Linked DNA regions of Homo sapiens: region 1 is linked to region 2. Evidence: promoter capture Hi-C in 16 types of primary human blood cells and fetal thymus (Javierre and others, 2016). All regions are on one chromosome and are shown on one strand. Each heading gives the region's core, a stretch centred on a gene start or on the middle of the fragment in contact. The rest is flanking DNA. Distances are from core to core; before and after follow the strand shown.

Region 1 (5,794 bases), core at 325-2,824, 330 kb before region 2:
GATTTTGTAGGTTTTAGTCTCTCTACCCCGCTGTCTTCCAATATGTATGCAGAAAAAGTAAACATGATCCCTAACCTTTCTGAAACCTTCTTTACCTTCAGTCTACACATACATAGTCTTGGGCAAAGAGTTATCAGGTAAATTCCATGGAATCAAGAGTAGAGGCATATGTTGCTTTTCTTAATAGGAAAAACAGTGACTGTGTCCCCCTAAATAAAGTCATGATTCAATGAAAAGACAAACAGCCCAATTTTAAAAAAATGAGCAAAAGATTTGAACAGACATTTTCTCAAAAGAAATATGAATGGGCAATACACACATAGAAACATGCTCAGCAATTTTAGGCTTTAGGGATATGCAAATTAAGACCACAATGAGATACCACTAGAAAGGCTAAAATGAAAAAGACCAACAACACTAAATGTTGGTGAGACTGTGGAGCACTAGAACTTTTCATATTTTTAGTGGGAGTTCAAAATGGTACAACCGCTTTGAAAAATGGTCTGGCAGTTTCTTACAGAACTAAACAGACCACTACCTTGTTACCCAGCAGTTCTTAGGTATTTACCCAAGACAAATGAAGCATATCTCTGTCAATAGAAAAGCAGATGCCAGCCATGGTATGATTTTGAACAGCCAGTGGAATAAAAGAATAGGGACTATATCTGACCTTGCTGTTAGAGTAGTTAGGCAGATATGAGCGGGGCAGGAGAGGCCCCCCTCCCCCACAGGAATGTCAGGCAACCATCAGGTGATGGTCAGGTGGTTGTTAAACTGTCTCACTAACATACTAGTTGGTCACAGCTTGCACCAGGGAAAGCAGACTCCCAGTAGATAGAAAACACCTTAAGCTCTTAATCAGCAGCTTCCTTTTTTTTTTTTTGAGATGGAGTCTTGCTCTGTTGCCCAGGCTAGAATGCGGTGTCGTGATCTCAGCTCACTGCAATCGCTGCCTCCCGGGTTCAAGCGATTCTCCTGCCTCAGCCTCCCGAGTAGCTGGGACTACAGGCACGTGCCACCACGCCTGGCTAATTTTTTATATTTTTAGTAGAGATGGGGTTTCGCCATGTTGGCCAGGATGGTCTGGATCTCCTGACCTCGCGATCCGCCCGCCTCGGCCTCCCAAAATGCTGGGATTACAGGCGTGAGCCGCGGCACCCGGCCAATCAGTAGCTTCCTCATAGGATCTCAGGCGTTGGATGAGTGGGCTCAAACTTGCATGCTAAGAGACAAAATGGTGGAGTTTAGCTGGTGTATGACCTTCCTCTAGGAACACTCAATTGGTAAGGGAAAAATGCCTCAAATGAACATGTGCACAGCTTCAGTAAACACACTGTACATGCGGCCCTTCCCAAGTGCTGGCAGGCCACTGCACATGCGGACAGCCCACCCCAAGGAAAAACCAAGGGAGGAGAGACACAAACCTCAGCACCATGCCATTGTGTAAAAATCCCAAGTCAAGCGTCGGACAGGGTCCTCGGATCTCTCAAATTGCCCACTTGGCCCTCTTCCACGTGTACTTTGCTTCCTTTCATTCCTGTTCTCAAACTTTTTAATATACTTTAACTCCTGCTCTAAAACTTGCCTTGGTCTCATTCTACCTTATCCTCTCTGGCCAAATTCTTTCCTCCAAGGAAGCAAGAATCGAGTTGCTGCAGACCCATATGGATTCGCTGCTGCTAATGTTGCCATTTGGATTTTTTTTTCTTTTTAGAGTGTTCTAGAATGCATGCTTAGAGAAGGGAATGTAATCCTAGGACACCACTCAGCTCTGCAACAGTATAGCTCTGCAGTAATGAGTAAATGCTGTTTGTTGGTTTACTTTAAAGCTCTGCTACTGAATATATACAAATATACTGTTATATTTTCCTGGTAAAACCTTTTATTATACAATCACTTCTTTTTATTTCTAGCAATTCTTTCTTTTACAGTGTATTTTATCTGACGTTAATGTGGCTGCATTGCATGTCTTTTGGCTAGTATTTGCCCTGCTTTGCATCTTCTTTAATTCATTTACTTTCTACTTTTTCTACCTATGTCTTAGGTTTGTGCTTTATAAACAACAGGTGGTTAGATTTCCTATTTCTAGAAGTTTATTGAGATTCTCCCTCTACCACTGTCTCTACCAATTCCATTTTTTCCCACCTCTATTGGTTTGGAAGATAGAATCTCTCTCTCTTTTTTTTTTTTTTTAAGTGATTATACTTGGAATTTTAACATGTCTGTGTAACTAAGTCTAAAGTTAGCTACCACTTTACCCTCCTACTGAGCAATCTAAGGATGTTAGAATGTTTTTAACTCCAGTCACTTTCCTCCTGGCTTATGTGCATTTCCTTGATATTTTTGATATCTTTTTATTTTTCTTTTGAAGCTCCATTAACTAGATGTTATTAGTTATTCCATCCTTCTTTGTTTCTATTTACTTACATGTTTATAATTTTTTAACATACCACTTTCTTGTATAGCTCAAACCTTCCCTCGAACATTTCCCTCCTTCTTCAAGTAGATTCTCTTCAAGTACATTCTTTATTTAGCGAAGGTATTTGGTAGTGAACAATCTCAGTTTTCTGAAATATCTTTATTTTGCCCTCATTCTGGAAAGCTAGTTTCTTACTTTATTTTTTTAATAGACAGAGGGTCTTGCTTTGTTGCCCAGGCTGGTCTTAAACTTCTGGCTTCAAGCAGTCCTCCTGCCTTGGCCTCTCAAAGTGCTGGGATTACAGGCACGAGCCACTGCGCCCAGCAGTAACGCTAGTTTCACTGGGATCATGGACTCTTAAGAGCTAGAAGGAACTTCACTGATTATTTGACTCAGCCTTTTCCATTTCCAGAAAAGCCTGCCACCAGGCACAGAAAGAATACATGACTTCCAGAGTCCCTCGCTATATTGTCCAGACTGGTTTTGTACTCCTGGCCTCAAGTGATCCTCCCACTTCAGCCTCCCAAAGTCCTGAGATAATAGGCGTGAGCCACCGTGATCCCCTTTACCTTTTTCTTTTTTTTTTTCCTTTATTTCTTCTTAATAAAAAAAAAGTGGGGGGGATACATGTGCAGAGCGTACAGGTTTGTTACATAAGTATACGTGTACCATGGTGGTTTGCTGCACCTATTGACCTGTCCTCTAAGTTCCCTCCCCTCACCCCCCAACCTCTTCAAAAAAAAAAAAAAAAAACTATCAAAAAATGGTGGCCGAGGTTCAAAGCTCTCACCTTGGTTTTGTGATAAAGGTGGTTAATCTTTGGTGTTGGATTTCAAATTAGTCTGTTTACAGTGAGCAACAGTACAGCAGTTTTAAAAATCATGTTGAATCAGAAACATGAAGAAGGCAGCAGAGCTTTCTCTCCACCATGCACTTGGAGAAGGAAATGACTCGGCAGCATACTCCTCATGGCTAATATCCTTTAAGATTTTTCCAAAATCATGAAACCAGAACTTGAGAGCTTAAAAGGGACTTTAGAAGTCTACCAGTGGATAAGAGAGAAAAAAAAATCAAAAGGGAAATGGAATAAGCCAAACTAAAGGGCAGGATTCTTTTAGTTCTCAGCAGGAAACATATGTTTATCTGGAAAAGATTTTGGTTGGACAGGTTGTTTGTGTAAGAATCTTTTTTGTGAGGAAGGAAGATCAACCTGGGCTTGAAGGCTGGGGTGGGGGTAGAGAGAACAGTCCCTGAGCTTCAAGTAAATGAGAAAAATACACAGATTTTAAACAGAGGAGCCCTGCTTTCACGGGGATCATATGATCGTGCTATCAGCTTACTTTTAAGTTGTGATAATGTATACATACTTTATGAAATATGATTAAATGGTAACTTTAGTATTAGTGGCTACAAGAACAGAAACAGCAACTTTTAAAAAGATATGAAAAGATGTTTTGGGTGAAAGTAGTTGGCTGCGCAACACATAGAGTATAACATACATCATTAATTTAAGACTGTAGATGTACAGTATATATTTGGCATGTACACCAGGATTTTCAGTGATTATTGATGTAATAAGATTTATGATTTTTAAAAAGAAACTCTTCATGATAGTTTTCTGTACCACTTACATTTTCCATAGTGATCATCATATTGTCTTTATAAACAATGACAACAATAAATCAAAAAGAGAGATCTTACATGGTGCCTCTTCTCTGACAGCTGAGACCACATCATAGCTACGTTGTTCCCTTACATTGCATTTACATTACATTTAAAATGTTATCAGGAGGACAGAGGCTCATGAATGAGACATGTTCTCTCCAGTTAAATTTAGTAAAGAAGAATCAGAGAAAAATCTCCAGATAACTGGAAAATGTTTACATTTTCAAGTATATAAAACCAGGATACATTATCTTGTTTAAGCTTGGAGTTGACAATAATACCATTTTGAGATGTTTTTCAGATAGAATGACAGTGAGAGTCATAGTGGGGTTGCACCTCCACATGATGCAACCCAAATGTGATGGAACAGAAACATTTTTCTTCATCATCCTGAAACCGAGCAGTGATGATCCGCTGAGGAATGTTTAATTTTCATGTATTAAAAAATGAAGAATGTCTGACCTACTGTTAATGAGAAAAAAAAACACCAAAAAGGAAGAAAGAAGAAGTGGCAGCTAAAAGCCTTTTTATGGATGACGTCAATAGAGGAAAATGAAATATTCATAGAATCACAGCAAGAGAATAGGAATTCTGAACATTTTTGTAGAAGGAAACTGTAGGATTCTTGCAATTGATAGTAGGACAGGAGGGAATTTCCATCCTTATGTGTGCAGAAAGGAGTAGACACAGTGAAATTTGAAGACTATTGTAAACATTTTCTACTTCACTTCACCTTGAAGAAGTCTACAGAAAGCATATATGGCATAGCTGGGCAGAGTGGCTCATGCCTGTAATCTAGCACTTTGCGAGACCAAAGAGAGAGGATCACCTGAGCCCAGGAGTTTGAGACCAGCCAGGGCAACACAGTGAGACCCCAACTCTACTTTTTAAAAGATTTTTTAAAAGCATATATGGCAGTTAAATTTCAGTGAGAAATCAGGACCAGGGTAAATGTAAATACATTACTATAGCAGATAAATAAATATGGATGCCCCACCCATATTTCCTTTCATCCCACAACAGAAAGCTGGAAATGCTGAAAAATTAATACCTCCCACCCCTGAAGCAGCCATCAGCCAGTGAGGAATGGGAGCCAGAGGATAAATAACCCAACTTCCTCACCCGCTGAGGGTGTTCAACCAGGTCCTTGAAATTCCCGACAGGAATCGAGCCTCAGTTGCCCACCCTGGAAACCTGCTCAGTAATACGCTTATCGTTGGTTTCCTTCCCTTTCCTGTCTCACTTCTGTAATCCCCTGGTGCATCTGGGGGTTCCTTCCCGAATAAACTACTTGCAACTTAAGTCCCTATCTTGAACTCTGCTCCTGGGGGAATCCAAACAAGAACAGGTGGAGACAGAGTAGAACAAGGATAAGCAAAGCAAGAGAGGAGATCTGAAGACGTCTCTAAGGTTGTTTGAGTGACTCCAAGGATAGTGGTACAATTAGCTAGGAGAAAGAGAGGGTGGAGGAGGCCGAGAAGAGGGTTCAGCCCAACAAATGCCAAGTTTTAGGTAGCTTGGGGATACCTTGAAGAGATGCTGACAAGCTACTTAGAAATAAGTTTATTAGCTAGAAGCCGGAGCTGGCCAGGCACAGTGGTATGCACCTGTAGTCCCAGCTACTCTGGAGGCTCAGGTGGGAGGATGGCTTGAGTCCAGAAGCTGTTTGAGGTCAGCCTGGGCAATGTAATGAGACCTCATCTCAATATC
Region 2 (5,586 bases), core at 1,826-4,325:
AGTGTTTGGGATGAGGGTAGTAAGGAGGCTTAGAGTGGTAACTGTTATACTAACAGTAATGGAAATACTGCACTATGGTTTGGTATTTTAATAACAGGTACAAAGCCATAGTTGTGTACTGTTTGCAATTAGCCATGCAACTTGACATATAACAGAAGTGAATTTTGGGAAAGGATGGACTTTTCAATAACAGATGCTGGAAAATTATACATACGGGAAATACATATACATACATATGGTTATACATATGGAAAAAAGTGAAATAGGATCCTTATACCATACATAGAAATAAATTTTTAGATGGATGACAGTAAATTAAAAGTGAAAGGTAATACTTTCAGAGTTTCTGAATAAAATTGCAGCAGACATGTTGGCAGTCTGTTCTGGTCTGAATGTCTCCCAAAATCAATGTGTTGAAACTTAATTAACAATGTGATAGCATTAAGAGGTAGGGCCTTAGCAGGTAATTAAGTCATGAGGACTCATGAATGGGATTAGTGATTTTATAAAAGGGCTGGAGGGAACTAGCTAGGCCTCTTTTGTCCTTCCGCTATTATGCCATGTGAGGACACGGCAACAAGGTGCCATCTTGAAAGCAGAGAGCAGCCCTCACCAGGCACGGAATCTGCCAGCACCTTGATCTTAGATTTCCCAGCCTCCCAGAACTGTGAGAAATAAATTTCTGTTGTTTGTAAGCTACCTATTCTATGGTATTTTGTTATAGCAGCAGAAATGAGCTAATACGTGGTCCAACAAAGACGTGTGCACCTCTTCCAGCGATTGAAACTATTGTTGGGGAGAGGTTGCCTAATTAGTGATGACGTTTCTCAGCCACCTTTGCACCTGAATGGGTCCATGTGACTGAGTTCTGGCCAATGGAATGTGGACTGAAATGGTGTATAACAGTGCTTCTCAAATTATCTGTTGTAATGAACCATTTCCCAAATGGTTCCCCCACTCTATCATGGGGGAAATAATGCATTTTGGCTCACTGCAACCTCTGCCTCCCAGGTTCAAGTGGTTCTCCTGCCCCAGCCTCCCAAGTAGCTGGGATTACAGGCACACGCCACTACGCCTAGCTAATTTTTGTGTTTTTATTAGAGACGGGGTTTCACTATTTTGGTCACGCTGGTCTCGAACTCTTGACCTGGTGATCCACCCACCTCAGCCTCCCAAATTGCTGGGATTACAGGCGTGAGCCACTGCGCCCAGCCAGTTGCAATACCATTTTCATAAAACTCAAAACCAACCACAACTAAAAAATATACCGTTTAAATATACATACATATGTGATAAAATATATACATGAGAAAGAGAAACAAAATTCAAGGTAGTTATTTATTTATTTTTTGAGATTCGGTCTCACTCCGTAGCCCAGGATGGAGTGCAGTGGCACGATCTCGGCTCACCACTGCAACCTCTGTCTCCTGTAACCACCATCTCCCAGGCTCAAATGATCCTCCCACCTCAGCCTCCCGAGTAGCTGGGACTACAGGTGTGCACCACCATGCCCGGCTAATTTTCACCATGTTTCCCAGGCTGGTCTCCAACTCTTGTGCTTAAGCAATCCTCTTGCTTTTGTCTCCCAAAGTGTTGGGATTTCAGGCGTGAGCCACCGTGCCCAACCAGTAGCTGTGATTAAAGTAGGGTACAGTCAAAGGAATAGGTCAGAGGAGGAAATCGCAGATTGATGTGAAGGCGTTGGTAATGTTCTGGTTCCTACACAGGTGAAAGGTGTACAGGTGTTTAACTGCTATGCTTTTTATCTCACACATCGCATAAATTTTTCTGTGACATAAAATATTACATAACATTTAAAAAACAGGTCAAGAGGGCAGGGTGCAGTGGCTCACGTCTGTAATCCCAACACTTTGGGAGGCCGAGGGGAGCGGATCACCTGAGGTTAGCAGTTCGAGACCAGCCTGGCCAACATGGTGAAACCCTGTCTCTACTAAAAATACAAACAAAACAAAACAAAACAAAATCCGGTTGGAGTGGTGCATGCCTGTAATCCCAGCTACTCGGGAGGCTGAGGCAGGAGAATCGCTTGAACTCGGGAGGCGGAAGTTGCAGTGAACCGAGACCGCGCCACTGAACTCCGGCCTGGGCAACAAGAGCGAAACTCCGTCTCAAAACAAAAAACAAACAAATCCAAACAAACAAACAAACAAACAAAAACAGGTCAAGGATCAGAAAAGTAAAGTGAGTTGACACTCCATTTACACACAGAAAGCCCAATGTTTTTCTATTATATCAGGATACCTCTTCTAAAGAATGATAGCTTACCTTTCAATCAGAGAAATGATCTAAAGTTCAAAATGTTACTCCATAGCTAGCTCCTGGAGGAAGGAAGCTAGGTGGCAGCGTGTACACAAAAAGGCAATTCATCCAAATAATAATATAACAAGAATATAACAAGTAGGTATTTTCTGCTAAGTGCTATGTAGCACAGGGGTGAATGCGTGGCAGGGCAGGAGGAGGGCTGTTTACAAGAGGGTATGAAATGCAGCTCTTCTTTTCAAGAGTGGTTGCAGAATGCCAGGGCTACAAAGAGAGGGCCGCACATTAAGCATCGTATTATGTGGGTACAGAGTATTAGGGTTCTCGATGACCAGAAGGAGAATGAGTGCAGTTTGTTTCCTAGCAAGCCTTCTTTAGCTTCTCTTCCCAAGTGGGAGTGGGGTTGGGGTTGGGACTGTTCTTTCCTAGCTCAAAAGTTCACTTATGTCACACTAGGGTCAGTTTAAAGGAGAGTGCTAGTAAGGGTAAAGTCAAGTTACATAACCTAGCGGAAAATGAAGACCTAAAACCGCTCGTGAGCAAACACAACACTTTAGACGTAAACCTCTTCCAAAGAAGGGTGGATCTCAGCACTCTGGGTGAAAGCAATCTCAGCCAGTAAAACATCAGAACGCTTTCACGCACGCGCAGTAAGCACACGACCGGTGGCAAGAGCCCGGATAAAGGCGGAGCTAAAGGTGCCGGATAATGCATCACGGAGCGCGTGTGCGCACGCCGTAGGGGGCGGGCCGTTCGGGCTTGGTTTCCTGGGCGACCACCGCTGGCTAGTCCGTTAGAGGCGTGCGGGCTTCGGAGGCGTGCGGGCTTCGGGTGCCATGGGGACTCCTCCCGGCCTGCAGACCGACTGCGAGGCGCTGCTCAGCCGCTTCCAGGAGACGGACAGTGTACGCTTCGAGGACTTCACGGAGCTCTGGAGAAACATGAAGTTCGGGACTATCTTCTGGTGGGTGTTTCTTGTCCACCACCCGCCTCTCCCTGCCCGCAGGTGGTGTAGAAAGTTGCCTCCTTCCCGGCGATATTGCACTTGTGAAGGGCTGAGAAGAGCGGCAGTCACCGAAGGTTGCCTCCATGACTCCTGGACCTTCCCCTGTGCTCAGGCAACGCGCTTTCCCTGCTCTATTTCATTGTGCCCTGATGGTTGTTGCGGCCTCCTCCCAAATATGCGTCTCTGCCTGGCCTCCCTTCTAAACTCCTCTCTCCCATCTCCACCCTGAGCCAGGCCACTATCATTTGCCCTTCCCCAGTCTTGTTCTAGGACCTGATGTTTAAAAACACACAAGCAAAGACAAAACCCTTCAAGATTGAATTAATTTTTCCTCCAACAACCAAAGTTGTCTTTTTTTTTTTTTTTTTTTTTTTTTTTGAGACGGAGTCTCCTTTTGTCGCCCAGGCTGGAGTGCAATGGCGCGTTCGCGGCTCAGTGCAACCCTTCGCCTCTCAGGTTCAAGTGATTCTCTTGCCTCAACCTCCGGAGTAGCTGGGATTACAGGTGCCCGGCACCACGCCCGGTTAATTTTTTGTATTTTTAGTAGAGACGGGGTTTTACTATGTTGGCCAGACTGGCCTCGAACTCCTGATCTCGTGACCCGCCCGCCTCGGCCTCCCAAAGCGCTAGGATTACAGGAGTGAGCCACCGCGCCCGGCCCAAAAGTTGTTTTTCAAAAGTGCAAATTTGATTATGTCACTCCCCGACTTATTACTCTGTAGTGGTGCCCATTGCCTTTGGGATAACGCTTGAATTCTCTGACTTGCCAAGACCATTCCTCACTGGCCTTTGCCTATCTCTCCAGCTTCGCCTGCCAGTCCCCTCCATGCACTCACTTTCTTGCTCCAGCAGCTGCTTTTTTTTTTTTTTTTTTTTCTTTGGGCCCTCTACAGGCTTTTCCTAATCCTGGAGTTTCCACCGCAACTCTCTTGTTTTGTCCACCTTATTCTTCACTCAGGGTTAAGCTCAAATGACATCCTCGGGGGAAGTCTTTTTTGCTCTTCTAGACTGAGTACGCTGTTCATGTTTTTTCCCCGCATAGCACCCTGTTTTTATTTTATGTCACCGCTTTCCACATTTTGTTGTAATGGTATAGTTGAAAAGGCAGTGTGGGATTGTTAAGGGCATAGGTTATGGAACCCAATTGGCTGCATTTGATTGCAGGGTCCGCTATGACTTGGGGCAAGTTACTTGAGTTTCCATATCTGTAAAATAGAGGCAATGATAAACCTCATAGTAGTTGTGAAGATTAAATGAGCTGATATATCAGAAATACATTCTAAGTGCTCAATAAATGTTCATTATTATTATTTTTTTTTCTTGAGACATAGTCTTGCTCTGTCACCCAGGCTGGAGTGTAATGGTGCGATCTCCTATCACTGCAACCTCCACCTCCCGGGTTCAAGAGATTCTCCTGCCTCAGCCTCCCGAGTAGCTGGGACTACGGCTTGTGCCACCAAGCCTGGCTAATTTTTGTATTTTTAGTAGAGACGGGATTTCACCATGTTGGCCAGGCTGGTCAAATGTTCATTATTACTACCGTTTTAAAATTTTCCTTTGACTAGACTGACCTCTGTGAGGACAGTGACTGGATGAATCTATTTTTATTACCATAGTACATATAATATTAAAAAGGCGAAATAACTGATTTTCTGAATGAGTTAAACCTTATGATTAAAACTTTTTCTGAACAAAATGTAAAAACTCATTTTCTCTCTGTCAGTGTAAGCAAATTACCTTTGTAGTTTTTTAAATTGCAAGGAATGGAGGATGAAGAGCTGTTTGTTGTACAGTTAATAAAAGGAGAGAGACTTTTTTTTTTAAATGGCTACTACATGCCATTTATTTATAGCTTTATTTATTGCATAAGACAGTTATAAAAAGCAGGTATAATTATCCTTGTTTTATAGATGAGGAAATTAAGGCTTAAAGAGGTTAAGTAATTTCTCCACCATTACAAAGATAGTGGATTGTAGAGCAGATGTTGGAAACTATGTATCTGCCTGTTTCTAAAATCCGTTAATATTCCACTGTACCACTTCTTGGGGGGAAAAATGCATTTAAGGAAAAAGCTAAAAATGTAACATTTACATTTTCTAGTAGGGAGAACCTAAAATGATAAAAGAAGCAGGAATCACTAGAGTGGTGGATTTTCTTGAGAAATTACTTTGGTTACCGTAACTAGAGTAGGCATTTTGTATTCTTTTCCTATATTTATTATTTGAAGACCCAAAATGTCCTCCTACTACCCCCTTCCCTTCCACCCCTGCATTGTAATCAGATATAATAGAGCCCGTGTT

Evidence for each region. Contacts are between HindIII fragments. The CHiCAGO score rates a contact against its expected background, and 5 or more counts as called.
Region 1: a fragment that was not itself captured here is called in contact with the fragment with the promoter of SNAPC1 in region 2 in 4 of 17 cell types (total CD4 T cells, activated CD4 T cells, naive CD4 T cells and 1 more); the score reaches 6.7 in total CD4 T cells.

The regions. Positions count from the first base shown.
Region 1 is chr14:61,429,890-61,435,683 of GRCh38, forward strand. The region is part of intron 2 of PRKCH (protein kinase C eta); the gene reads left to right. Among named protein-coding and RNA genes, the nearest start is that of PRKCH-AS1, 110 kb to the left of the region's middle. The HindIII fragment of the contact is 5,538 bases long and covers 1-4,343 here.
Region 2 is chr14:61,759,345-61,764,930 of GRCh38, forward strand. It overlaps SNAPC1 (small nuclear RNA activating complex polypeptide 1), which reads left to right and starts at 3,076. Exons shown (of 10, transcript NM_003082.4): 1 at 3,076-3,244. The coding sequence starts at 3,117. RefSeq lists enhancers at 1,070-1,814, 1,815-2,558, 2,402-2,491, 2,559-3,302, 3,303-4,046. The HindIII fragment of the contact is 7,963 bases long and covers 1-5,586 here.